Regions from separate parts of the Homo sapiens genome. Here regions 2, 3 and 4 are each linked to region 1. The links are contacts of gene promoters, found by promoter capture Hi-C in blood cells and fetal thymus (Javierre and others, 2016). All regions are on one chromosome and are shown on one strand. The core of a region is centred on a gene start or on the middle of the fragment in contact, and the rest is flanking DNA. Distances in the headings are between cores, read along the strand shown.

Region 1 (6,449 bases), core at 2,603-5,102:
AATGCAGTGGCGTGATCTCAGCTCACTGCACATGCCGCTCCCGGGTTCACGCCGTTCTCCTGCCTCAGCCTCCCGAGTAGCTGGGACTACAGGCGCCAGCCACCATGCCCGGCTAATTTTTTGTATTTTTAGTAGACATGGGGTTTCACCGTGTTAGCTAGGATGGTCTCGATCTCCTGACCTCGTGATCCACCCGCCTCGGCCTCCCAAAGTGCTGGGATTACAGGCGTGAGCCACCGTGCCCGGCCCACAATAAAAAAAATTAAATGGACCAAGTAATAATTCATTGAGGATAATAACAACAGAAGAAACGTGGTAGAGGCAAAGAGTAGTAGATGGGGAAAATTCAGGAGGCTTCCAGATGATTCTGCTACCACCTAGTTTTGTAACTTTAAGAGAGTTTCTTAAATTCCCCATCATTTCCTTTTTTGTGAAATGACTAAATCTGGATAATCTCTATGCTGTCTTTAGCTCCAGTAGTGTCTGAAGTTACATATGAAACTATATTTATACAACAATGCCCCATGCCTTCCAATCTGTTTGCTTCTAAATCCATTTCACAATTATTCTCTAACAAGGTCTATTTTTCTCTTTGAATTTTATTCTTTTTTAGCCACTATTCTGCATTCCTCCATAATTCTATGCCATTCTTTTGCCAGTCTATCCAATCAGTGTACTTTCTTAGCTGTCTCCTTAGTCCCCTGAATATATTTTCTCAATTTGAGCTATAGATAAGAACTCTACAGTTATCAAGATGGACTCTGATCATATCTAAAGGGTTTGCTTCAAGATTCAACTTCAACATGTTTTCCTAAGCATGCCTGCTTCTGCTCTTGATCTCTTTCTTCAGTTCTTCATTTAATAACTATTTATTTTAGTGCTCCAGCAGTAAGCAAGACAGACATGGACCCTGGTTATGTTGTTCCAACTTTTCGGCTGCTTTTAGTATTTTCCTTATATTTGAATTGTGGAATTCTCAGGAGTAAAAATATCCACAGAGCCAGGCAGGTAATGAGAACGAGTAAAGCAGGCCATAGACCTGGTAGAGACTGAGCAAGAAGGTCAAGATGGCTTGTTTGCCAGATGAACTAGAACTCTAGATTTTAAAGTGAACTCTGATTTACTGATTTTCGCAGGGAAGGCTAAACATTTCTTTTATGAATACTCCACATCATATACCTGTACCAATATTCCTAATACATGGGTACCTGAAACATTTTCTCCAGTTTTCCATGCCTAGTTTCTTTACACTCTCACTTCATTCAATGCTTTATTAATATTTATGCCACTTAACTTTTTCAGTCGGTGTCCTTTATTTACTCTAATCTTCTATTTCTAGTCAATGCAAGACATAAAGGTAAGGAAGGGCAAGATTCAAAATTGAGATTTTTGGCCGGGCGCAGTGGCTCACGCCTGTAATCCCAAGATTTTGGGAGGCCGAGGTGGGTGGATCACGAGGTCAGGAGTTCGAGACCAGCCTGACCAACATGGTGAAACCCCATCCCTACTAAAAATACAAAAATTAGCAGGGCATGGTGGCGCGCCCTTAATCCCAGCTACTCAGGAGGCTGAGGCAGGAGAATCGCTTGAATCTGGGAGGCAGAGGTTGCAGTGACCTGAGATCTCGCCACTGCACTCCAGCCTGGGCCGCAGAGCAAGAAAGACTCCGTCTCAAAAAAAAAAAAAAAAAAAAAATTGAGATTTTTGGCTGGGTGCGGTGGCTCACGCCTGTAATCCTAGCAATTTAGGAGGCAGACGCGGGTGGATCACCTGAGGCCGGCAGTTCCAGACCATCCTGACCAACATGGAGAAACCCTGTCTCTACTAAAAATACAAAATTAGCCGGGCATGGTGGCGCATGTCTGTAATCCCAGCTACTTGGGAGGCTGAGGCAGGAGAATCGCTTGAACCTGGGAGGTGGTGGTTGCAGTGAGCCGAGATCGAGCCATTGCACTCCAGCCTGGGCATGAGTGAAACTCAGTCTCAAAAAAAAAAAAAAAATTGAGATTTTTGAGTGAAAATGACTTATGTCCATGTTAACATATGACTGAAAACAATTCGATGCTCCAAGGGCCGACCCTGAGACTATCTAGCTGTAAAAGATGACTCCTAGTTTGGGCCAGGACGAACAGAATGAAAATCAGCTCGGACTGAAATGAGAAAAAGTAGTTGTGCTGGGAGGACAGATACAGAAAAAGCCAGCAGCAAAGTTAACTGAGAAACTTCTTTCTCCCACAGCCGTGCAGTAGCTATGACACGCCATATTCACCCCTCTTTGAGTAACTGCTGCTCTTACTAGTGTTGCTACTTTATTACTGGAGGTACCTAATTACTAAATTGCTGTATCCTCAAGACAGCATCCAATCCCTCGTAAATCCCAGCTTTTCTTCATGCCGCCACGGAAACGGCGTCCCATGCAGAACTGATTCTGGCTCTCCTTAGACCCTCCTCAGACTCCTTTGGCGGGAAACTAATCTTACAAAGGAGGCTTCCTCTTTCCTTTTCCAGTGGCATTCCAAGCTTCCTTTGGAGTGCCCTCCCTCCTGATTTACAAATTGGCCTGACGTTATCGGAGTACAGGCTTTTTCCTGGTGGTTTCTGGCCTAACAGGAGACAGATTAGTAAGTACCAGGATCTCTAATAGGTCAACTTTCATGATCTCTGCTAAATTCTCAGCTGTTTAGACTTACAATTTTTAACAGCTAAAAGGAAAGACAAATGCTATCTAAAACTGTCCCATCAGCCCATTTACAGGGAGCACCTCCCCCATACCGCCCTAAAATCCTTTAAAAAATGGCTTTAGTCATTTTATCTGCCTTGCATTTAAGCGAATTCAGTTTAAGTGGCTTCAGTTCTGAATTCCTGGATTATATCGAAATGTTGCAGATGGCGGTGTGTGGGCTTTGAGCTCGTAAATTTTTTGTGTGGTACTAATTCAAGACGATTGAGAGCAGGTTGGGATCATTTTAAAAAGAGTTCTCGGCAGGGTGTGGTGACTCAAGCCTGTAATCCCAGCACTTTGGGAGGCCGAGGCGGGCGGATCGCTTAAGGTCAGGAGTTCGAGACTAGCCTGGCCAACATGGTGAAAACCCGTCTCTACTAAAAATACAAAAATTAGCCGGGCGTGGTGGCGTGCACCTGTAATTCCAGCTACTCGGGAGGCTGAGGCAGGAGAATCGCTTGAACCGGGAGGCAGAGGTTGCAGTGAGCTGAGATCGCGCCATTGCACTCCCGCCTGGGCGGCAAGAGCAAAACTCTGTCTCATTAAAAAAAAAAAAAAAAAAAAAAAAAAAAAAAAAAGGGTTCTCTAGTAGGAAGTCCCGAGTTGTATCCATGTTTTTCCGGGCGTCCCCCGGAGGGACAGGTTGCGGGTGACCTTTTCAAGTGTGGAGGAAAGGGAAGCTGCTTTTGTCTTCAGGAATGATGCAGGTCTCGACTCAAGCCTGACGGGCCCAAACCTCCCTGGAGCTGGCTGACGACTCTGCCCGAGTTCCTGAAGAGGGGTCCCGGGGGTCCCGGAGCGGAAGTGGGAGCGCGTGGGCGTGGGCTCCTCGGCTGCCTGGGGCTCCAGACTTGTGCTGCGTGCGGCTCCGGAGCTCTGTTCTCGCTCCTGAGCAGCTGCTAGGTTTCCCAAGCGACTGTCTCAACCGCCCGGCCGCCTCCCCCGGGCAGCCAGAGCTTCACATCTACCTCCAGCCGGGACCCGCCCCCGAGCCGCGGGGCCCACGCCCAGAGCCCTCCGCCGTCCCCAGCGCAGTGCAGCAGAGCGCGATCCAGTCTGGGGCCGGGCCGCGCTTCCGCGCACGCGCGGAGAAACCCGCGCCCTCCGAGGGGGGAGGGGACAGAGGGGGCGTCACGGGGGCAGGAGAAGAAGGAGGAGGAGGCCCGCGTCGCCTCCGGCGGGGCTCGCGCTCGCCCCGCGCTCGCCCTCCGCCTCGCCCGAGCCCCGGGAGGGTGAAACGCTTTCTCCCAGCATGCAGCGGGAGGAGGGATTTAACACCAAGATGGCGGACGGCCCGGATGAGTACGATACCGAAGCGGGCTGTGTGCCCCTTCTCCACCCAGAGGTGAGGAACCGTGCTGAGTGGATTCCTTGCCCTGCGGCCCTCCAGCCTTTCTTCCCCGGACTCGCCGAGGGCGGCGGCCGACGTGTGTGGGGTAGTGGGACGTGCCGAAGTTGGGGAGGGTGGGGAGGCGAATCCAGGCCTGAGCGCGGCTGCGAGCGGATAACGGGGGAGGAGATAGCGGGGCGGGCCCGACCGGGGCGGGCTCTGGGACGCAGTCCCTGGCTGTGCCTGGAGGACAGAGGTGGAGGTGTTGATGGTTCTGCTGTGTCGCCGCGCTGCGTTTGAGAGCAGAGGCGGAGGGGCCTGGTGTGGTTTTTGAACCGCAGCTTAGACCCTAGTCTTGCTCCAAGCCTCTTGGGGCCAGGTGGAAGCGCGTCTGGTTTTGATTTCTTTTTCCTTCGCCAGGGTGAATGACGGTATCTATTGCTTCCTTTTAGTCCACTGTGAGGGGACAGTTTCATGGGCATAGTGATGTCCTTCCAGGTAATGCCATGGGTAGCACCTCGGGCACCTTGTGTCGGGCGTCCTTTTTTGAGCATTTGTCCTTAAGCGATTAAGAAGAGAGGTAAAAACTTTTGGGAATAGACTTACACTCACATTAGCTTGTCAAAGTACCGTTTTTCTAGGAGCTAGGGGTGGACAGTGCAACACGTTTCCCATCACAACATGAGTGTCTTCCCATGTAAGTAAACAGTGCCCCGCTCCACAGTCAGTCAGTCTGTGCTTGTTTACCTCCGAGTTTGTAGCTGAGCTAGTGCTAGTTAAGGCTTGGAAGCAATTCTTGATGCATTCTGATTTTTAGTGATCCACAGTGATGTCTGTATGCGGCAGCGGCACAGTTTGCTGAAGAACTCGGGTAGTTTTCATGAGGTTAAAAGATGACAGTCGTGTTGTAGGATGAACAAACATGGAAGTCTCTACCTGGTTACTTTGCAATGGAGTGATTCTGTTTTTTTCTGGATTTGGGTTTGTACCATGCCACTAGTTTTTGTTAAAAAGTGAATAATGACAACCATCCTTTTATGTTGCATGTTAACACTCAACCACCCTCTCATTCGTCACTTTGGTTTATCAAAAACACATGGGACAGTTCCTTCGGAATATATACCTGTGCCAGTCTCAGTAGAAAAGGCTACTCTGGGTTTCTGATAAACAGAACTATACAGTAAGACTAAACACTTGTCTGACCAAAGTGGTAACATTTTCAGAACTGGCATTGTAGACATCTCTTTTGGTTCACTTAGGCCCTAACATACGTCAGGAAATAGACAAAGTAGTTTTCAGATGTTGCCTTGAAAATGTTGCTAAGTGATTTCTATTCATCTGTTCCTGTGAAAGTATTCGTGAAAGTATTTCAAACACTTAAGTGTTTATCCAGTTTATTTTTTTGAGACGGGGTTTCTCCCTGTCCCCCAGGCAGGAGTGCACTGACACGATGACAGCTCACTGCAGCCTCTACCTCCAGGGCTCAAGTGATCCTCTCCCCTCAGCCTCCTGAGTAGCTGTGACCACAGGCTCGCGCCACCATACCCGGCTGATTTTTTTATTATTTGTAGAAGAAGAGGTCTCCCTATGTTGTCTAGGCTGGTCTTGAACTCTTGAACTCAAGTGGTCCTCTCACCTTAGCTACTTAAAGTGCTGGGATTACAGGCATGAGCCACCATGCCAGGCCTATCTTACGTATTTTAGCATACTGTTCTTCATAAACCTTTGCTTTGTAATATAGTACTGTTGTTTGCTACTTTAAGAATAATTTTAACTGGCAACAAATCCAGATTATTTGGTGTAGTAGAATGGCCAGTATAGGCTTGAAATTTAGCTACCGATCTTCAGGTTGCCATTCGATAGATAGGATATTACTAGAAAGTCAACCTCCTCATCATTGATAGTGGGAATTGGCATACATAATATATACCGTTCCTTTTTACCCAAGAAGCACAAGGTCTGATTATTTTAATACTTTGGATGGACCTTAAGCTTGTACTACATGGCTGAGGTCTTTCTGCATTTTCTGTGGTTAGTGTGTGCAGCTGGTGCAGACCTGGGGTAGTTCTGCTGCCTCCTAGCAGTGTGTTCTTGGGCAAGCTATGAATACGTCTCTGAGTTCTAGTTTCATCATTTATAATGGATAAAAATAATAGTTAATAAGCTATAGCGAGGATTAACTGAGATAATATGTTTTTGTTGTTAAAATAAGCAGTGTTTTCAGTCTCCTTTGGGAAGAAACCCATTCTCTGTCTTGGTAAGTAATGAAATAATAGTACTTTTAACCTCTTTTTGGAGAGAACATAGACTTTGGGTCAGACAGACTTGGATTCTAATTCTGGAAATTCGGTAACTAGCTAAGTGACCTGAGACAAGTGCTTAATTTCTTTAAGCTTC
Region 2 (6,449 bases), core at 2,699-5,198, 7.0 Mb before region 1:
CCGCGGTCGCGAAGAGGATGAAGAGAGAGTTCCCGAACAAGTCGGAAGCAGCTCACAACACCGGACGCCGCGCGGCAGGGCTGTGGACCTGGGGTGGTTTCGTGTCCCAGTCTTAGGAAACTACGCGCGAGGCACCGTGCTGAGGCGTAGAGGTCACCCTCGGGAGGTTTCGGTGAAACCTGGTGGGAAATTCCGGGCAGGCGCCCGGAGTCGCGCCCAAGTAGGCAGCTCCGTGCCGCCAGACTTGTGTTCGGGGGAGTTGAGACGAACTGCACGGGTGGGATTGCATGGCTCTGCCCTCCCAGCGTTGACAACTCGCCCCGACCGCCCAGGAAGCGCGAGCTTACTGGCTCCAGAAGTGATGATGCTGGGTGGAAGTCGCAGCATGTGAAGAGTTGCCGGTTGTTATGGGATTAAAAAAGATGAAAGGGTAAGGTCTTGAAAGACACGAGCGCTGAGTTAGTTAGTACTGATTACTGAGAGGCAATTTAGTTTCATGGAAATGTTGCCTGTTCGGAGGCTACCTGTTATACACTCTCCTGTTTCACCCCAACTCCTTCCGTTCAGTGTCGGGTTAAAAGCCTTGTAATCTCTTGCAGTGGAATGATTGCATAATTGGAGGAGGGGCCCATAAGAGGATTACAACAAAACTGTTCCATTGTAAATCAGTTGAAAGACCCAGTTCTTGTTCATTATCCTTTTTCTCATTTTGTTGTTCATGAAGGTTTTTTTTTCTTCCAGTGCTGAATGACAAATCAAGGAGAAAAGAGGCAGAATAGGGTTGTAGACCAATCGTAGTAAATATTTGATACTGTTAAATATTTCACCAGTTTTATGGGGCCTTGTTCTGTTATCATTTGTTATTTATTTACTAGTACTGTGCATTTTGATAGGACTTTTCATGTTTGGACAGACAGTGTATTCCAGATGCGGCTTATGTGATCTAATCCTAAAGCCCTTGTGGAATTTATAGAAATAAACAGTTATACAATTAAGTAGTCCATTTTTTAACTATTAAATGAAAAGCCATTGCATTTTTTTCCATTACAGTAATGTTACATATTAATGTATACCTTTGTGAACCAAAGTGTTTGATACAACTCTTCCTTCTGTGTTTGGTAAACAACTCATCTGTGGTACTGAATACTTGTAATCTTTCACCAGGATGGCCATTTAATGTTTAGCTGCTTTGTGGGATTTCTGAATAGATCCTATTGTACTTTTTGAATTAGTGCAGTTATCCATATGTTTCCTTTAATATTCTTTACCTTTGATTTTGTCTAAACTCTCATCCTCCCCCAACACACACATCCTCTACAAATAATTTTTAAAATGGAAAGGTTCTTAGAAATGTTTCACCCCCTCATTTTTTAAATATGGCACGAAAAAATACTTTGTAGATTACAGTAGTTTTATATGCATTATAGTAGTTACTATACTTTTTTCCTCCTCAACAGGAGTCAGTGAACAAATTAGTGAGCTGGCTGAATGAAAAATTATTTAATGTTCAGCTCCATCACTTACTGTGCATAAAACCTTGAGTAAAACATTTAACCTGTTTGAGCTTATTTTCTCCATTTGTCAGTGGAAATACTATTAGGTTGAAATTGCTAATATTCTGCTGTTTTTTATGTTTCAACCTAATATGAACTTCATAATGGTAAGATGAGGATTTAATAACATACTCCATTAGAGATGTGGGGAAGGGGAGAAGGAACCAGTGTGAGCTTGATTGTGTGCAAGGCACTGTGTGTGCTTGTTTTCGATACCTTGACTCCTCAGTCCTCTGGACATTCCCGGGATATAGGTGGTTTATCAAATTTTACAAGTCAGGAAATGGAGGCTTAGAAAGTTGCGATAATTTGTCTATGGTTACTTAGTTGTAGGTGGTCGTACAGCTGGCCAGTGACAGAGCCGGTATTAAAAACTGTATCCGACTGCCCAAAATGGAACGTAGTGCTTTTGTTTCTTACATTCCTGGTCTGCACCTTCTATTAAAGAGCTTTGTAACTATAAGGAGGCACACAGATGACAAGTGTTACCATTTGTATTTCTGGTTTAAAAATATCCAAGTTTTCTGAAGACGGTGATACCAGCATTGCTACTACAGTTACTTTTAAGTCTAGTGCTTATCAAGCGAAGTCCTGGTGTAAGCTTTATACTCATTTACTCTCAGAGTGAGCGAGGAGATAATACTTTATCCCTATTTTGTAGTTGAGAAAATTGAGACCCTGAGACCTTATGTAGTTTGCTCAACGTCACATAGTTAATTAAGTGACAGGTCTAGATTAGATGTCAGACAGTTTGTCTTCCATGTCTGTGCTCTTAACCACTACACTCTGTCATTTCTTCATGTATAAGTGGTAATGCTAAAGAATTGTTTGCTCATAATCACTACATTATCACTTCTTTATGTGTAGCTTATAATGCTGAAGAACTTTGTAATTTAGCTTTTATGAGATACGTAATGTTAATGTAATATGTAATTCTCATTGTGTCACCAGAGATTTTTTTAAATCAAATACTCATTGAGCATCTACTCTGCAAGTCACAGTAGGGGTTAAAGGAAACTGTTCTTAAGGAATATGGAAGGTAGGGCCTTATAATCATTCCCATATCTTTTATAAGTTCTTCAAAATGTAGAACGCACTTTACATATTTTAATGAATGTCAACTAAGACAAAGTGCTAGGATAGTTGAGTAGTGGAGAGGAAGGACAGATGGATAGTGGGTAGAGATATTTGTGCATTGAGGTAATGAGGGAAAGCTTTGAAGATATTCCAAGGGAGTACGCTTTTTCACACTAAACTTTTTTCCGATATAATTCTGATTAAGATGCAGTTCATCAAAGGATAGTAAATTGGTTACTACGCATTTGATATCCTAAAAACAAAATATCTGAGCTTTTGTAAACTGCTTTCTAGCTTGTTTCTCCTTTTTTATGCTACTATCCTTAGTTGTACCAGATGGTACTCTTTTTAAAAATTTTATGCTTTTATAATACTGAGTACCTCTTTTTTGGTATTTATGAACTTTGATATTTGTGTTGTATTTGTAATTGTTTCTAGGGCCCTAGAAACATGTTTATTGGCAAGGTGGTCTCTTCCTCTAGTCTACAAGTGCTTCGAGAGTAGGGCTTACCTCATTTTATAGCTTTAACATCGGGCCAGGTAAGTACTGTGCTGTGTTTGGTGATGGATGATCAGTTGAAGAATGTTAGGATGTTTTGAAGCTGCTCTAGCAGTAGAAATTGAAATGAACATTGAGAAATGAAGGGACAAAGGAAGGAAGAGGAAGATATTTATACAACTGGGAGCATTAACTTGCTATCTCTATTTTCCCTTCTGCTTTCCTTTTCAACTTACCACTAAATGAGGTAGTTTTATAAGCTTACATCGTACATAGTCATGGTTAGAGAAAAGTGGAAAAAGTAATCTGATTTATCTTAGAATATAGGGCAACACGAAATTAGATAACTATAGCCGTAAACTGATATTACTTAGAGGAAAAAGAATGAAAATTATTCAAATAGTTCAAGTTCATGAAAGATTTGATGCTTGTCGTTAACAGTAGGATTGTAAATATAATCATAATGGCAGTTGATGAAATTCCTCTGAGGGGTATGGATACATACACAAATAAGTATATGAATTGACAGCTTAGTATGAAGAAACTATTCAAGAATGTGAGAATGCCCTATGAGCATAAAGGAGCATATAGATGATAGCTTAGAACCACTTAAATAAGTGAATTGTAATTTGATATGCCCAGATAAAAGTAATAGTATTGAATATTTGTTTGGGAGCATCTGGTTGTCAGATAAGGATAAAGTATAAAAGAAAAACCAAAATAAGTTTGAAAAAACAATAAGCAAATTTGTATCAATTCCCTGTGGGGAAAAGAATCATATTTGAACTACATGCCTCATAAAGACTAGTTTTCCCTTTCTTTCCTTTTACCTAAGATAAATAAAGATACCTTCTGATTTGTAAGACAAACCCCTCAGTATGCTTTTGCTATTTCCCCCATTACATTTTTTTCTTTCTTAGATCTTTATAAAATCATACATTTATGTTGTGCTTTACAATGTATACATTTTTACATTGATATGCCATTTGATTTTCTCAAATGTAGGCAGGGGAGATAATATCACTACCATTATAGATGTCAAAACTGAACCTTAGAGAGATTAAATGACTTGCGTCAGTTCACACAGCTTGTCAGTGACAGAATCTGAACTAGAAGGAAGGTTTTCTGAAGTTAGTCTGTTAAAATGCTCAGGTTTTCTCAAACTTCAATTTCTCCAGTTTTGATACTCTCGCAAAGTATTTACTGTTTCATTTCTATCTTTTTCAGCAAAAATGTAGCCTGAATAACTGTCTCCACTCTTTACCGCTTTGCTATTCATTCCTTCTCTAAAGACTCTTGTTTATTTATTTAGTCAGTGCGTATTTCAGCACCTGTTGAATGTTTAGTTGGCATATATTCTTAAGAGAATATGTAAAATGAAGCTTCCATTATTGAGAAAAAGAAATTTGGAAAATGATTTTTTTAAAAAATTATACTTTTAAGTTCTGGGATACATGTGCAGAATGTGCAGGTTTGTTACATAGGTATACACGTGCCATGGTGGTTTGCTGCACCGGTCAACCCATCATCTACCTTAGGTATTTCTCCTAATGCTATCCCTCCCCTAGCCCGCCACTCCCCCACAGGCCCTGGTGTGTGATATTCCCCTCCCTGTGTCCGTGTGTTCTCATTGTTCATCTCCCACTTATGAGTGAGAACATGCGGTGTTCTGTTAATTTAAATAAATATTTAATTACAAATAAATATTTGTAATTAAATATTAGCTCATTGTATTATTACAAATAATTATTTGTAATTAAATATAATATTAGCTCATAAGTTCAGAACATTTTCTGAAAACTGTCAACATAACACACTGCAATAACTAACATCTCTACACATGTCAGGTTGTACATTGAAGTGTTGTGGAATTAGGCCGGGCATGGTGGCTCACACCTGTAGTCCCAGCACTTGGGAGGTTGAGGCAGACAGTTACTTGAGGTCAGGAGTTCGAGACAAGCCTGGTCAACATGGCAAAACCCCATCTCTACTAAAAATACAAAAAATTAGCTGGGTGTGGTGGCAGGCGCCTGTAATCCCAGCTATTCAGGAGACAGATGTTGCAGTGAGCCGAGATTGTGCCACTGCACTCCAGCCTGGGCGACAGAGCGAGACTGCATCTCAAAAAAAAAAAAAAAAAAGTATTGTGGAATTAGTGGGAATTCATTTGTGATCTATTATAATAAAAATGGGAAAATTGTGTAGCCTGATTGACCATTTGAGTAATTTTGCCCTTGGGCTATTAATTACATTTGCATTTATAAACATAGAATGCTTCTTAAAAGATAAATGTGATTTTTTTTGTCATAACTAAAATGCTAGTTTGGGAAGCCAACTTTAAAATTATTATGAAAGCTAATGAAAAAATGATTTTATATATATACTTGTTTTGTTTTTTCCTCCTTTATTATACAGTATTTGAATAAATTTTGAACTTTCCTTTTTATTTTGAGAGCACTATAAATTATGGAGAGTTTCAAATAAGGTAAGTAGACACAATAGTATAATGAACCTAAAAGTTTCCATCATGTAGCCCAGTAACTATCAACAGTGATCAGTCCTCATCCATCCACTTCTCCCACTTCTATATTATTTTGAAACAAATTGCAAGTCCTGTGTAATTTCACCTGTAGGTATTTCAGTATTTCCCAAAGATAAGAGCAGTTAACTGCAGTACTTTTACAAACTTTGTTCTTTATTTATTTTTTCATTTTAATCTACATTTCCTGCTTTTATTATTACAAATTTTCAAAAATTAACACTAATTCCTTGGTATAAAATATCTACACTTTTTAAAAAAATACACAGGAATATGGGTACTATAGTAAATTCAAGTTTCTGTTTATTTTGATTTATGTGCTGTTTTTTTTTTTCCAAGTCCTGTAAGGAGCTGAATAAGTATTAAATTCTGGCATAGTAACAAAACAGAGGAGGAAATGATAACAAAAATAATATAGGGGAAAATAATAGAACACAAAGCAATAGCAAATGCTCATTTCAATAGCAGTGCTTTAGAGAAACTTCAGTTTTGTCTTTGTGAAAGTAAGAGAAGGGTTCAGAGATTAAACATTATTATTCTGTTTGGATTGTTCACTTCTTTTTTTTTAAACTTTAAGTTCTGGGATACCATGTGCAGAACATGCAGGTTTGTTACATAGGTATACACGTGCCATGGTGGTTTACTGCACCCAGGATTGTTCACTTCTTAGAGATCCTTTGCTGTGCTTTAACCTTTATTCCCATCTCCCTACTCCCTATCCATTTCAGCTTCTAAGTGTATCTCAGATGTAGTGGAGTTAGGTGTTAGAGTCAGACACACC
Region 3 (6,449 bases), core at 1,538-4,037, 5.1 Mb before region 1:
TCTTTTGAGTGGTAGGGATGCCTACTAATAACAAAGAATAACTACTATTAAGTTAAAAAATATAGTTTAGGAAATGCCTAACCAGAAATTTTCCATTGCCAGAAAATGGCTTCCAAAGTAAATAGAAAAACAAAGACTTTGTTGAAATTTTTAAGATTGATAGTCTATAAAAATTGTAACAGTAAAATCGTGATTTTTTAAAAGTATACAAGAGCCCCTCCCACTCCCTTTATCCTTGGAGATACATTCCAACACCCTCAGTGGATGTTTGAAACCCTGGAAAATACCAAACCCTATATATACTATTTTTTTCCAATTCCTATATACCTATGATAAAGCTTAATGTATAAATTAGGCACCGTAAGAGATTAGGAGGAATACCTAATAATAAAATAGAACAATTATAACAATATATTGTAATAGAACTAAAATAAGGGCACTGTGATACTGCAACAGTCCATCTGATAACTGCAATGGCTCCTAAGTGACTAACAAGAGAGTAATGTCTATTGCATGGATGGATATGCTAGATAAACGGAGGATTCACGTCCCAGGTGGGATGGAGCTGGATGGCATGAGATTTCATCATGCTACTTTGGCATGCAATTTAAAACTTATGAATATTTCTGGAATTTTCTTTTTAATATTTTCGGATTGTTACCGGTGGAAGGTGTCCAGGTTCTTGGTGTTTTGAACAAAGAACTGGAAAAACACACAAGCAAAGCAAGGAAAGAATGAAGCAACAAAAGCAGAGATTTACTGAAAACAAAAGTACGCGCCACAGGGTGGGAACCATCTGAGCATAGGGGCTCAAGGGCCTCCTTACAGAATTTTCTAGGGTTTAAATACCCTCTAGAGGTTTCCCATTGGTTACTTGGTGTACACCTTATGTAAATGTAAATGAAGTACTAGCCCACAATCAGTCTGATTGGTTGTGAAAAACAACCAATTAGAGGCTGAAGCAAAGTTACAAAGTTACACTCCTACGCAAACGTCTGATTGGTTGCAGAAAGCTACCAAGCAGAGATACTTTCAATTTTCTATCTGCCACGCAGAAAAAAAGAGGGGTTTGCAAAGGGCGTAGCTTTGGGTCCTTTTGTTACTTAGGTATGGGAAGTTGGGGTTTTCCTTTTGATTTAGCTCTAGGAAGTCAGCATGAATCGGCCTTAGGTTCCCTGCCTCAATAGGAGACCCTATTCTCCTGCCTCAAGATCATGTTTAACCCTTGGTAACTGAAACTGCCTATTGCATATAAGAACTACTGTATTTTAATTATATTAACTCCTCTAAATTATTTTGGTCTTAAGCTAGAATAACTTTTATGGAGAAAAACATCTATAATTGGTCACTGAAAAAAATAGAAGGGAAAATATTCATCTAAAGGGTCAGTTCACTGACACTACTATTTAATATGCATTTTTTAGCCAGATCTAATAGTCATGAGAAAATCATCCCTGACATCCAGGGACTGACCTGACACAGCTACACCACAGTGTTGGGAGATAGCTTGACATTCACAACTAGGCTATGATTTTCCTATCGAACACCAACTAATCAGAGAGGGTCACTCTGTGACTGTGGTGAAGCAAGGCAAAAAAAAGAAAAAAAAAAAAAAGACCAGTTTATAATTTTGTCTAAGCAGAGACAAAAACAATGCGACTGTGCAAACCACAAAACATTAGCTTTCATTATTAATAATTTTACCCAGTAGTCTGGTAACATTGATACTGGCCAGTCAGCTTGGTGAAATAATCCAAACATTTACCTATGCAGAACAGACTAAGACAAAAATAAAGTAGGCACATAATACATTTCAGCATAAAGACCATATATGTATATTATCTAGTACAGGAAGCCCACTACTATTTAGTCCTACTTCACAGATTTGATTCTTAGTTAACTACTTAATTAGATGTCTTACCAAAGAAAATGACAAGCTGTCTTGGCATGTATTTTGAAATTTAAAATAATGTGAGCTTTTTTAAAGTAACTACTCTTGGGGCTTAAAACACAATTGCATACTGTGTCTGAAATGGATTTGGCTCCTCTTCTTACACTGTCAGCAATTAACTGAAAAAATTGATAAATATTATGTAATTATCAGTTAATTACTGTTAACCCAGGCAAACAAGTTAATTTCACATAAAACATGAAATCAGGCCGGGCGCTGTAGCTCACGCCATTAAACCCAGCACTTTGGGAGGCCGAGGTGGGTGGATCCCCTGAGGTCAAGAGTTCGAGACCAGCCGGGCCAACATGGCAAAACCCCGTCTCTACTAAAAATATAAAAATTAGCCGGGCGTGGTTGTGGCGCCTGTAATCCCAGCTACTCCGGAGGCTGGAGCAGGAGAATCGCTTAGAACCTGGGAGGCGGTGGTTGCAGTGAGCAGAGATCGTGCCACTGCACTCCAGCCTGGGCGGCAGAGAGAGACACTGTCTCGAAAAAAAAAAAAAGAAAAGAAAAGAAATCAGCCACGATTCAGATTTTTAATGCTAACAAGACGTTTTGCTTTCTAAATGCACACACCTTTAATATAAGGGGTGTGAGGACAGATATTTCCACAATCTAAGTGGTGTTATGACAATAATTACGAGAGCTCAGTAATAGAAACTATGTTTAACTTTACCTCGCTAGCAGCCAGGAGTCTAGCACATTATAGGTACTAAACAATGTTGTTTAGTACCTATAATGTGGTTTTGGAGAAGCAGTGCAAACGCAGCCGGCCAGGATGCCAGCAGTGCCTGCCCACGTGAGCTAGGCGACATCCCCCTAAGCGGCTGCGGCGCATGCCCACAGCGGGCGAGGCGCTAGAGGCGGGGGCGCCGGGAGGCGCGGGCTTTGCTCCTGGGGTCTCGGCCTTGGCCGGCTGGACCTGACCCTAGGGCGGCTTGCGCAGCTGTCGGGACGTGACTGCGTTCAGCCGCGTCGGGCGTGCTTCCCAGACTTGCCCAAGTTCGGGTGCCCTAGCTGCCCCTTTGCAGCCGCTGGCCTACCCGGCCCGCGGGTGAGAAGGTTGCGACGGGAGGTGGGTGGAACTCGCCAGCGCCGGGACCGCGGATTGGCTGCCTCGGCTTTCTCTTTTCCCCGTGGGCTCCGGCGTGAGGCGCTGAAGCGGCCGGCAGCCGGCGACCGGCCCTCACCGTCCGCCGGGTTGCGCTCTGCTTTTGCGGTGAGGCGTTGACCACGCCCATATGAATTGGAGCTCTCCGCCAGTAGGAGTTTCCGGAAGGAGTTTGAATTTTTGTGATTTTTATGCTTGTTTGGTCGGTGGAATATGTTGGGATTTATGTTTGCCTCTGAACAAGTGTCTTGCTCACATCGTAAATGACTTTCTCTCCGAAACGCTAAATATTCTTTCCCGCAGGAGCTCATATCCTTATTTTCCATGACAGATCTTAACGACAATATATGCAAAAGATATATAAAGATGATAACTAATATAGTTATACTGAGCCTGATCATTTGCATTTCGTTAGCTTTCTGGATTATATCAATGACTGCAAGCACCTATTATGGTAAGTCTGAGTGTTCTAAGTTGTTTCTCTGTAATCTAGTCAGAGGAAATTAAAACCATACCATTGTGAAATCCAAAACTCATATCCTCTGAATGGTTATGAATGGTTGTGTTTACTTAACTTCCATAGCCTGATTTAACTTACTAACATGATAGTATAAACAATGCCTTTAATAAATGCTTGTTGTGATAATTCGAGTTATACCTATTTCTTTTTTTTTTTAATTTTTATTTTGTATAAGATAGGGGTCCCTCTGTGTTGCTAGGCTGGTCTCAAACCCCTAGGCTCAAGTGATCCTCCCACCTGTGTCTCCCAAAGTGCTGGCAATACAGGCCACCACTTCTGGACTAGTTACACCTATTTCAAAATGTCTTTATATTTTATGTAACTATTCCATCTGTCTTGGTAAAAGATAAGTGAGGCGAATATAGCTTTGTAAAGCAATTACAGTGATGCTTTTAATTTTGAATAAGAATATTAGTAATGGGCCAGGCGCGGTGGCTCACGCCTGTTATCCCAGCACTTTGGGAGGCCGAGGCGGGCAAATAACCTGAGGTCGGGAGTTCAAGACCAGCCTGGCCAACACGGTGAAACCCCAGCTCTACTAAAACTAGAAAAAAGCTGTAATCCCAGCTACTTGGGAGATGGAGGCAGGAGAATCACTTGAACCCTGGAGGCGGAGGTTGCAGTGAACCAAGATTGAGCCACTGCACTCCAGCCTGGGCCACAGAGCGAGAATCCGTCTCAAAAAAAAAAAAGTAGTAATGTAGTTTATCAGTTTCACATGTTCTGTAAAAATAATAAGAATTAAAAACGGTATACTATTTACATTTGGAGAGCTGAAGGACTTATCTGCCATTTGGTTGCTTCAAAAGAATAGACTCCTTTTAAAGCCTAAAGCTACATTGCTTAAATATAAGGTACTCTGGACTCAGATCTTTAAAGTTTTAAAGGTGCTTTAGAGCATAAGCCTCCATTTACACAAACTTCCTTCTCCTATGAAAACAAAATACTGGTCAGTTTGCAACAAAGGAAAAATGAAAAGGAGAATGAGAATGCTTGTATCGTAAGGGATTGCCATTTCAGACTGTAGGCTTTTTGCAAAGAGACATGTGAATAGTTGGAAAGGGTTCTCCAGGCTACAGAAGCTCTCAGTGCAGTTCGTTCATAATGATTCACAGTGGGGCATCAGAGTTTTAGGGGAGGGGTGTAAGAAAAGATTCTTGTTAGTGACAGTATTTACTATGACTTGAACTAAATGGAATAAATCAGGATTTGTAAACTGAAATATCCCTCTGGGGCCAGTCACCTAATGCAAATGAATCTGTGTACGTTTTTGTGTATTAGACCTGTGGTAATAGTTTTCATTTCCAGAAATAGGATATTTCTCATCTTTTGTTGAATGCTTGGGCCCTCTTTGTCTTTCATTTCCCCTTTATTTTTCTGAGACGGAGTTTCGCTCTTTTTGCCCAGGCTGGAGTACAGTGGCACGATCTCAGCTCACTGCAACCTCTGCCTTCTGGTTTCTCCTGCCTCAGCCTCCCAAGTAGCTGGGATTACAGGTGCCTGCCACCATGCCTGGCTAATTTTTGTATTTGTAGTAGAGACAGGGTTTCATCATGTTGGCCAGGCTGGGTCTCGAACTCCTGACCTCAGGATCCTCCTGCCTTGGCCTCCCAAAGTGCTGGGATTACAGGCATGAGCCACTGCGCCCGGCCCATTTTCTCATTTTTGATAGAAACATAGATACAAGCAGTGGTTCACAGTTTTCTTTACCATAAGGAAATCACTTTGCCTTGGCGTTTAGGAGCCTATCAGGAGGGGTGGGAACTTTAAATGGGAAAGCCACGGCCTGTTTAAAGGAGGGCACCTCTCTTTACCTTAAGTCAATTCTGCCATGTTGGCCAGAACTTCCCAATTTTAAAACAGAAGCCAAGAATCTGGATTTTTATATGATATCTCCTAATCTTTAAATATTGACTAAAATTATTTGAAAACACTCTGCTAGCCAAACATCTGTGAGCTGGATGCAGCCTCTGGAATAATCAATTTCTAACCATTGAATGAGGTGTCTGTCCTCTGACAGGCAGAGAGGAGTAAGATCCTGTTACAAAAAGAGTTCGTTCTAGGTAGTCCTTGAAATTTAATACGTGCCCCCTTTAAAAAAAATGAACCAGAGGTTCATTTTAAATATCTAGATATCCATTATTATCATAAATAGCAGTAAAAGGTTTTCAAAACTTGGACATAACCTATTTGGCCATTCTCCAGTAAGACTGTTTCTCCGAAAATATGCATGCATGTCTCAACATAAATACAGTCATGCTCTGCCTAACAATGTTTTCGTCAATGACAGACCACACATACAACATGTTCCCATAAGATTATAATACCATATTTTTACTCTACTTTTTCTATGTTTAGATACACAAATACGTTATAATTGCCTGTAGTATTCAGTACAGTAACATGCTTTACAGGTTTGTAGCCTAGGACCAATAGGCTATAGCATATAGCTTAAGTGTGTAGTAGGCTCTACCATCTAGGTGTGTGTAAGTACAGTCTGACGTTTGCATAACCATGAAATCACCTAAGGATGCATTTCTCAGAACATATCCCTATCTTTAAGTGATGCATGACTATATATTTCTTTGGTGACTTCATCTTGGTGTTTGTACTTATGACAGTATTTTAGTCTAAAAGCAGTAACGGAAGTTTACTGCCAAAACTAACCTGTGCAAACTTCACACAATTTGTGCTCCACCTTTATAATTTTTCAGGTAACTTACGACCTATTTCTCCGTGGCGTTGGCTGTTTTCTGTTGTTGTTCCTGTTCTGATCGTCTCTAATGGCCTTAAAAAGAAAAGTCTAGATCACAGTGGGGCTCTAGGAGGTATGTTTTTATTTTGAATGTTTACAGTAACTACTAAGT
Region 4 (6,449 bases), core at 2,082-4,581, 5.0 Mb before region 1:
ATCAAAATTAGTTTCACTAGGCTAAAATCAGCATATCTGCAGGGCTGAACCCCCTCCAGAGGCTCTAGGGGCTTCTTGTCTTTTCCAGCTCTGGTGGCTGTAAGCATTCCTTGGCTTATGGCTACATTGCTCCATAATCTGCCTCTATGGTCACACTGCCTTCTCCTCTTCTGGGTGTGAAGCATCTCTTTCTGCCTCTCTCTTATAAGGATACTTGTGATTGCAGTTAGGGCCCACCCAGATAATCTCCCCATCTCAAGATCCTTAACTTAAATCAAAAAGACCTGTTTCCCAAATAAGGTAACATCTACAGGCTCCGGAATCTAGGAGCTGATATCTTTAGGGGCCGTTATCAGCCTATTACAATTTACATCTATATTTACCCACTCTGTGCTCAAAAGTATGCCAACCTACTTATTGTAACCCATGAAAACTTGCACTACCTTCTTAAATGTCAACGTAAGCTAAATGTAAAAACTTATTTTAACTTCGAAAATTATTTTGGCTGAGTGTGGTGGCTTATACCTGTAATCCCAGCACTTTGGGAAGCTGAGGCTGGAGGATTGCTTGAGCCCAGGAGTTCAAGACCAGCCTGGGCAACACAGCAAGACACGCAAGATATCGTCTCTACAAAAAAAATTAAAAAATTAACCAGGTGTGGTGGCACACACCTGCAGTCCCAGCTACTCGGGAGGCTGAGGTGGGAGGATTGCTGGAGCCCAGGAGGTTGAGGTTGCAGTGAGCTGTGATTGTGGCACTGTACTCCAGCCTGGGCAGCAGAGTGAGATCCTGTCTCACAAAAAAATTATTTTGTTTTACAATAAAAAAATTTTTAATTGCTTTGATTTAGTGATAAATGCAAAGTAATGCATTTAGTTTCTAAGATGACCAAGCTGTTAAATAATCAAATGCACACAATTTGAAAAGTTGTTGAAAGGATTGGCTGTATCAAAAAGAAGAAAGGAGAAGGCTTAAAGGAAGAACACACAGCCTTCTTCATATGTTTATAGGGAATAGGGATTCGATATATAATGTATAAATATAAACAGAAATAATTAATTGCAGGTGAAGAGAGGCAGATTTCAATCCAATATGAGGAAGTGCTCAGAAAGAACAATGGAAGGTGCTCTCTCAAAATGAAGTTCTTTTCTAGTTCTGGAAGTGTCTATAAATGTGCAAAGACCCTAAGGGGAGGAATGTGGAGGAGAGAGTTGGAAAATATATCTTTAGATACAATCATGAGGATATTTTATAAAACATAGAGTCTCTTTAATGGTTGGTTCTAAACAAATCTAAAATATTATCCTTCTCCAATTCACTTTTCAAATGATAGCCAGAGTGGTCAAATCTGATTATGTCAGTCATCTTACGAAAATCCTTCATTTGCTTAAAGACCCTTTCAGTATTGATCCCCAACTTCCTCATGGTCTCTTCTGGAGTTTTTTTTTCCTCCCTAAATTCTAGTCACATTTACAGTTGCTCAACTTTAGATGCTCCTTCCTATCTAAAGCCATTGAACATGCTGTTATCTCTGTTTGCAGAGCTCTCCTGTCCTTCCTGACTAGGTTACTCTTACCCAAAGATAACTTTCTCCAGGGAAAGCTTCTCTAGCATGCTAAATCAGTTGGGTTCTCATATATGCTTGCAAGATACTCTGAACTGTTTCATCAAGATGAAAGCATTTATTGTACAATTGAGTATGTCTGTCTTCCCTGATAAAATGTAAGCTCTGTGAGGACAGAGACATTTTATCTTGTTGATCACAGTGCCTGGCATATGGTGGGCACATTTAAATATTTGTTGAATGAATTAACCGACTCTCTTTTTTTTTTTTTTTTTTTTTGAGACGGAGTCTTCCTCTGTCGCCAGGCTAGAGTGCAGTGGCGCGATCTCGGCTCACTGCCACCTCTGCCTCCCGGGTTCAAGCGCTTCCCCTGCCTCAGTCTCCCGAGTAGCTGGGATTATAGGCTTGTGCCACCATGCCCAGCTAATTTTTTGTATTTTAGTAGAGATGGGGTTTCACCATGTTGGCCAGGATGGTCTCGATCTCCTGACCTTGTGATCCGCCCGCCTCGGCCTCCCAAAGTGCTGGGATTACAGGCATGAGCCACCACGCCCGGCCTCTTTTTTTTTTTTTAACCTGGTTTGAAGTGTGAAAGAAGTTTGATTTTTAAAAAAATGTTTACCTGACACCAGGTTTCCAGTAAATTTTCAGAAATATTAGTATGATTTCTTGGAGGAGTATGGTTTCTTGGAGGCAGGCCGGGCGTGGTGGCTCACACCTATAATCCCAGCACTTTGGGAGGCCGAGGCAGGTGGATCACTTGAGGTCAGAGTTCAAGACCAGCCTGGCCAACATGGTGAAACCCTGTCTCCACTAAAAATACAAAAAGTAGCGGGGCGCGGTGGTGGGCGCCTATGGTCCCAGCTTCTCGGGAGGCTGAGGCAGGAGAATCACTTGAACCAGGAGGCAGAGACTGCAGTGAGCTGAGATCACGCCACTGCACTCCAGTCTGGGCGACAGAGCGATACTCCATCTCAAAACTAACAATACAAACAAACAAAAAAGAATGGGGATGCAGATGAGAAAAAACAAGCAATCATCGAACAAGCCACCTCAAGGTGGAGTACCATGGAACGTCAGAGGCTTCATGAAAGTCAGAAAAACTGAAGAGCACTTGGGGTTAGGAATTCAAAGGTGGGCAGCTCTTATACAGACCTTGCCCTCAACAAACCTATAGTCTAATGAGAGTCGATAAACACTTAGCAAAGTATTAATAATATCCATGGAGTGTGTAAAGCCCTAGTAAAGGAGGTATACTGGTGGTAAGAAATACCTAATTTTGTGAGGTGGGGGAATGGAAGGATGGGGGAAGGATTGGGTGGTCAGGGACGCGGTTTAAGCTGAGACTTGAAAGATGATGGAGTAGTTGACCAGGCGGTCAGAGGAACTTGGAAGCGCTATGATTCGGGATCCCACAGAGAGAGATTCAAGGGCACCTTGGCAGATATGGTTTACAGTGACCTCTGGTGTGACAGATCATTAGCATTGTGAACATGCAAAAACGATGAAGTTCTGCCCTTCATTTCACCAGAGCTGGGCTCGCCTCAAATTCCTGGTTCCTTATTCCCGCTGGCTCCCACCAACTGAAAAGCAGAGGTGGCTCGCAAGCGGCGGGGCTCTGCCCTAGATTGCCAGTAGGCGCTCGACTCACATCCAGCTCCACCCCGGGAGATGCCCCAGAAGCCCCGCCCACGTCCAGGCACGTTCTTCTGGGGCTAGTCGCAGGGGCCGCCCCGGCACCGGCGCTCACGTGACCCGAGGTGTGACGTAGGAGGAAGGAGACGCCATTAGAGGGAGGCAGAGAGGGATCGTTCTTCGCTTTTCCTCCGGTGCCTGACGTGGTGGGCTGGGGCCCTTCATTCTCGGACTTTCCCTCAGCCCTTCCAGGCCTCGCCCGAGGAGGGCGTGGGGACAGCGCCCGGGTCGGCGGGGCCGGGGCGGTGGGGGCTGAGCCGGCCGTGGCTGTGAAGGCGCTGCCGCGGCTGTCGGGAGGGCGGCGCGACACTCGGGCTCGGGCGGCCGGGAAGCGACGGGATGGCTGCGGCCGGCGGCGGCGGCGGCGGGGCGGCGGCGGCGGGCCGAGCCTACTCGTTCAAGGTGGTGCTGCTGGGGGAAGGCTGCGTGGGGAAGACGTCGCTGGTGCTGCGCTACTGCGAGAACAAGTTTAACGACAAGCACATCACCACTCTGCAGGTGCGGACCTCGGGGAGCGGGAGGGGGCGCCTCAGGGCCCCTACCCCTCCGGGGCTGGGGAAACTTTGCCGCCCTGGTCCCCTGGATGTAGGCTGGCAAATCTCAGGCCTGTCATCTCCGCCTTCGGTTTACCTTTCCGAATTCGCCCTGGGGAATCACCAGGTCGGGGCAGCCTGTAGACGCGAGGACAGGCTGTTGGGAGGGAAGTGGAAGGGCCCTGAAAAGTCCCCAGTGTTCCCCGTGGTGGCTGCGCACGTTGTGGTCTCCGTCCGTGGGCTGTTTTTTCCCATTTACTGCAGTTCCTGGGTCCCAGGTGTCAGTGTTGCAGTCTCCAAATGTTAGCTCCTTTTCTTTCTTTCAGAATTAGGAACTTAGCTGCGTATTTGATTTTGCGAATTAGGTGATTTGTAACTTCAGCGCTTACTGATGACTAAGTGTTTATGCAAGTTCCATTTTGTCCTGAGTAACAGGAATGGCAAAAGAGCCATCTCTGGAGGTTTTTTGAAATGACCGCTTGCCTAGGCGTGTTACGCAGTTTCATTGCAGCCTGCGTGGGTCTGACTTGCGGGTCACTCATATTCTGCGAGGTCGATTGACCCACGCTGAAACATCAAGTGAATACTGGCCAACAATTGGTCCCCAGACTAAAAGCCGCTGCTGTTACTCAGTTTCTTTACCTGTAAAATAAAAGGTCGGCTTTCTTCCACAGGTACATTGGAAAGGTGTTAAAATGTTATCATTGATTGAGAGTGAAGCCAGGCCTTTGAGGGAGTTGTACTCACCCCACCTCTCCCAGAGAAATCAGTTTTGATGTTATTAGGAGAAATTTATCCTACTAATTTGACTTACCAATTTGGTCAAAGGCAGTAAAGTCTAGTGGACTTTTGAGCCTGATTGTCCAGGTTCATGTCTCACCTCCATCCATTTAACTAGCTGTGTCATACTGGGTAAGTTACTTAACCTGTCTGTGCCTGTTTCTTCTGTTAAAATGGCCATAATAGTAGTATCTAGCTCATAGGGTTGTCAGGATAAATATACAGAAAAAGCACTGATGACCTGGTCCAGTGTAAGTTGTCTGCCTTTAATTACCGCCCCAACTTGCACAATAGGTCTTAATTAGTAAATGTGTAGTATGTGAGAACATCGACACTACTTAATAGAATGCGTAATCTCCTAATTGTTGTGACATTGGATGTTTGATGCTATTATTAAACTACTGAGTCTAGAATTTACAAGACGCTCTGGCTCTGATTCCATGTTCTATTTTTACTCCTCTGATTTTACTCGTATGTAAAGCATATCTGAAAAAGTGAGTGCCAGGAAACTGCATTTTTAAAAAATCCTTGTACCAGAACACTGACAAAATTTTAATAATGAATTGTTATTGTTCAGTGTCATTAGTGAGAGCCTGGTGTTTTAGATCAAGAAAATTCACTGGACAAATACCTAGGATCATTTGGAAGTTTAGAGATTTACTTAGGTAAAGTAGTAACAATAGCTAACATTTAGTGAGTTCTTACTGTGCTGATTATTTTGCTTGCTTTCTGTCTGCTTGCTTTAATTCTTATAACACCCTATGAAGTGGATAGTTTAGTGGATAGCCCTACAGCTGAGGAAAAACGTTTAGTTGAGTAATTTTGCTGGCAGTAATATTACCACAAGTCAATGGGGCAGGAGTGTCCAAGCTCAAATTTGAACCCCTGTCTGACTTCAGATTTTGAGCAATTAAATCACATTACCTCGGTATATTGATAAATAACCCATCTAGTGTTTTCCTTTATGCAAAGATCTAAGATAAAAGAAAACTATTGTAATTGAGGTCTCCACGTTTTTTTTCAAAAGATAACTTGAGTCTTGCCCTGTCGCCCAGGCTGAAGTGCAGCAATTTCCACTCACTGCAACCTCCACCTCCTGGGTCAAGTGATTCTCCTGCGTCAACCTCTCAAGTAGCTGGGATTACAGGCACACGCCACCACATCTGGCTAATTTTTTTGTATTTTTAGTAGAAACGGGGTTTCACCATGTTGTCCAGACAGGTCTCGAACTCCTGACCTCAGGTGATTTGCCCACCTTGGCCTCCCAAAGTGCTGGGATTACAGGGGTGAGCCACTGCACCTGGCCATACCCTTTCAACTTAAAAATTACACTTCCATTTTAAATTTCTAAAACATTCTTGAAACTGAAAGCAGAGTAAAGGTTTTTAAATATATGAAAAGCCACTGTACTCCACAGAGGGGAGGATGAAGTTATAGTAGATATCCAGTATTAATATCTGAATTATATTATAGAATTTAGGATTTTGTTGTACACCAATGTATGTAAACAGCAATGTGTCTAATCTCTTTCAGAGATACCAGTTAACCTCATCTTTCTTAACAATTTTTCAGAGGAATTTGATTTATGTGACTTGTAAGACACAACTTTGTATTCTTTTAATTTCCAAATGGAGAGGAAATCATGTCAGAAGATATGAGAGGAAGAGTTCACCTTTTTTCTCGTCAACAGAGTACCTGTCTATGTAAACTACTTTGTATTTTATAAAGTACATTCTCATACATTTCAAAGAATTGCAGGATTGACAGGAATTTAAGACAGTTATGTATGGATCACTATTTTGGTCTTCTAATGTTTAGTCAAGTGATTGTCCCCCTTTTTTTTTTTAACATCTTGGAGGTGAAATGAACTGGTATTA

What was found. The method cuts DNA at HindIII sites, captures the fragments that hold promoters and counts their contacts. A CHiCAGO score of 5 or more calls a contact.
Region 2: a fragment that was not itself captured here is called in contact with the fragment with the promoter of ZDHHC17 in region 1 in 1 of 17 cell types (total CD4 T cells); the score reaches 5.4 in total CD4 T cells.
Region 3: a contact is called between the fragment with the promoter of TMEM19 here and the fragment with the promoter of ZDHHC17 in region 1, in 2 of 17 cell types (total B cells and non-activated CD4 T cells). The highest score is 7.1, in total B cells.
Region 4: a contact is called between the fragment with the promoter of RAB21 here and the fragment with the promoter of ZDHHC17 in region 1, in 5 of 17 cell types (non-activated CD4 T cells, activated CD4 T cells, naive CD8 T cells and 2 more). The highest score is 11.2, in non-activated CD4 T cells.

What each region holds. Positions count from the first base shown.
Region 1 is chr12:76,760,263-76,766,711 of GRCh38, forward strand. ZDHHC17 (zDHHC palmitoyltransferase 17) reads left to right here and starts at 3,853. Exons shown (of 17, transcript NM_015336.4): 1 at 3,853-4,067. The coding sequence starts at 3,975. RefSeq lists enhancers at 3,351-3,450, 3,747-4,041, 4,017-4,859, 4,051-4,200 and a silencer at 3,591-4,000. The HindIII fragment of the contact is 3,524 bases long and covers 2,519-6,042 here.
Region 2 is chr12:69,739,440-69,745,888 of GRCh38, forward strand. The region is part of intron 1 of RAB3IP (RAB3A interacting protein); the gene reads left to right. Among named protein-coding and RNA genes, the nearest start is that of RAB3IP, 3.8 kb to the left of the region's middle. The HindIII fragment of the contact is 1,122 bases long and covers 3,388-4,509 here.
Region 3 is chr12:71,683,295-71,689,743 of GRCh38, forward strand. It overlaps TMEM19 (transmembrane protein 19), which reads left to right and starts at 2,788. Exons shown (of 6, transcript NM_018279.4): 1 at 2,788-3,516; 2 at 6,297-6,410. The coding sequence starts at 3,387. It overlaps LOC124902965 (a long non-coding RNA gene), which reads right to left and starts at 2,770. Exons shown (of 2, transcript XR_007063367.1): 1 at 2,628-2,770. RefSeq lists silencers at 3,060-3,129, 3,120-3,335 and an enhancer at 4,684-4,753. The HindIII fragment of the contact is 11,589 bases long and covers 337-6,449 here.
Region 4 is chr12:71,751,532-71,757,980 of GRCh38, forward strand. It overlaps RAB21 (RAB21, member RAS oncogene family), which reads left to right and starts at 3,332. Exons shown (of 7, transcript NM_014999.4): 1 at 3,332-3,757. The coding sequence starts at 3,599. RefSeq lists enhancers at 3,104-3,393, 4,034-4,223 and a silencer at 3,374-3,653. The HindIII fragment of the contact is 5,965 bases long and covers 1,601-6,449 here.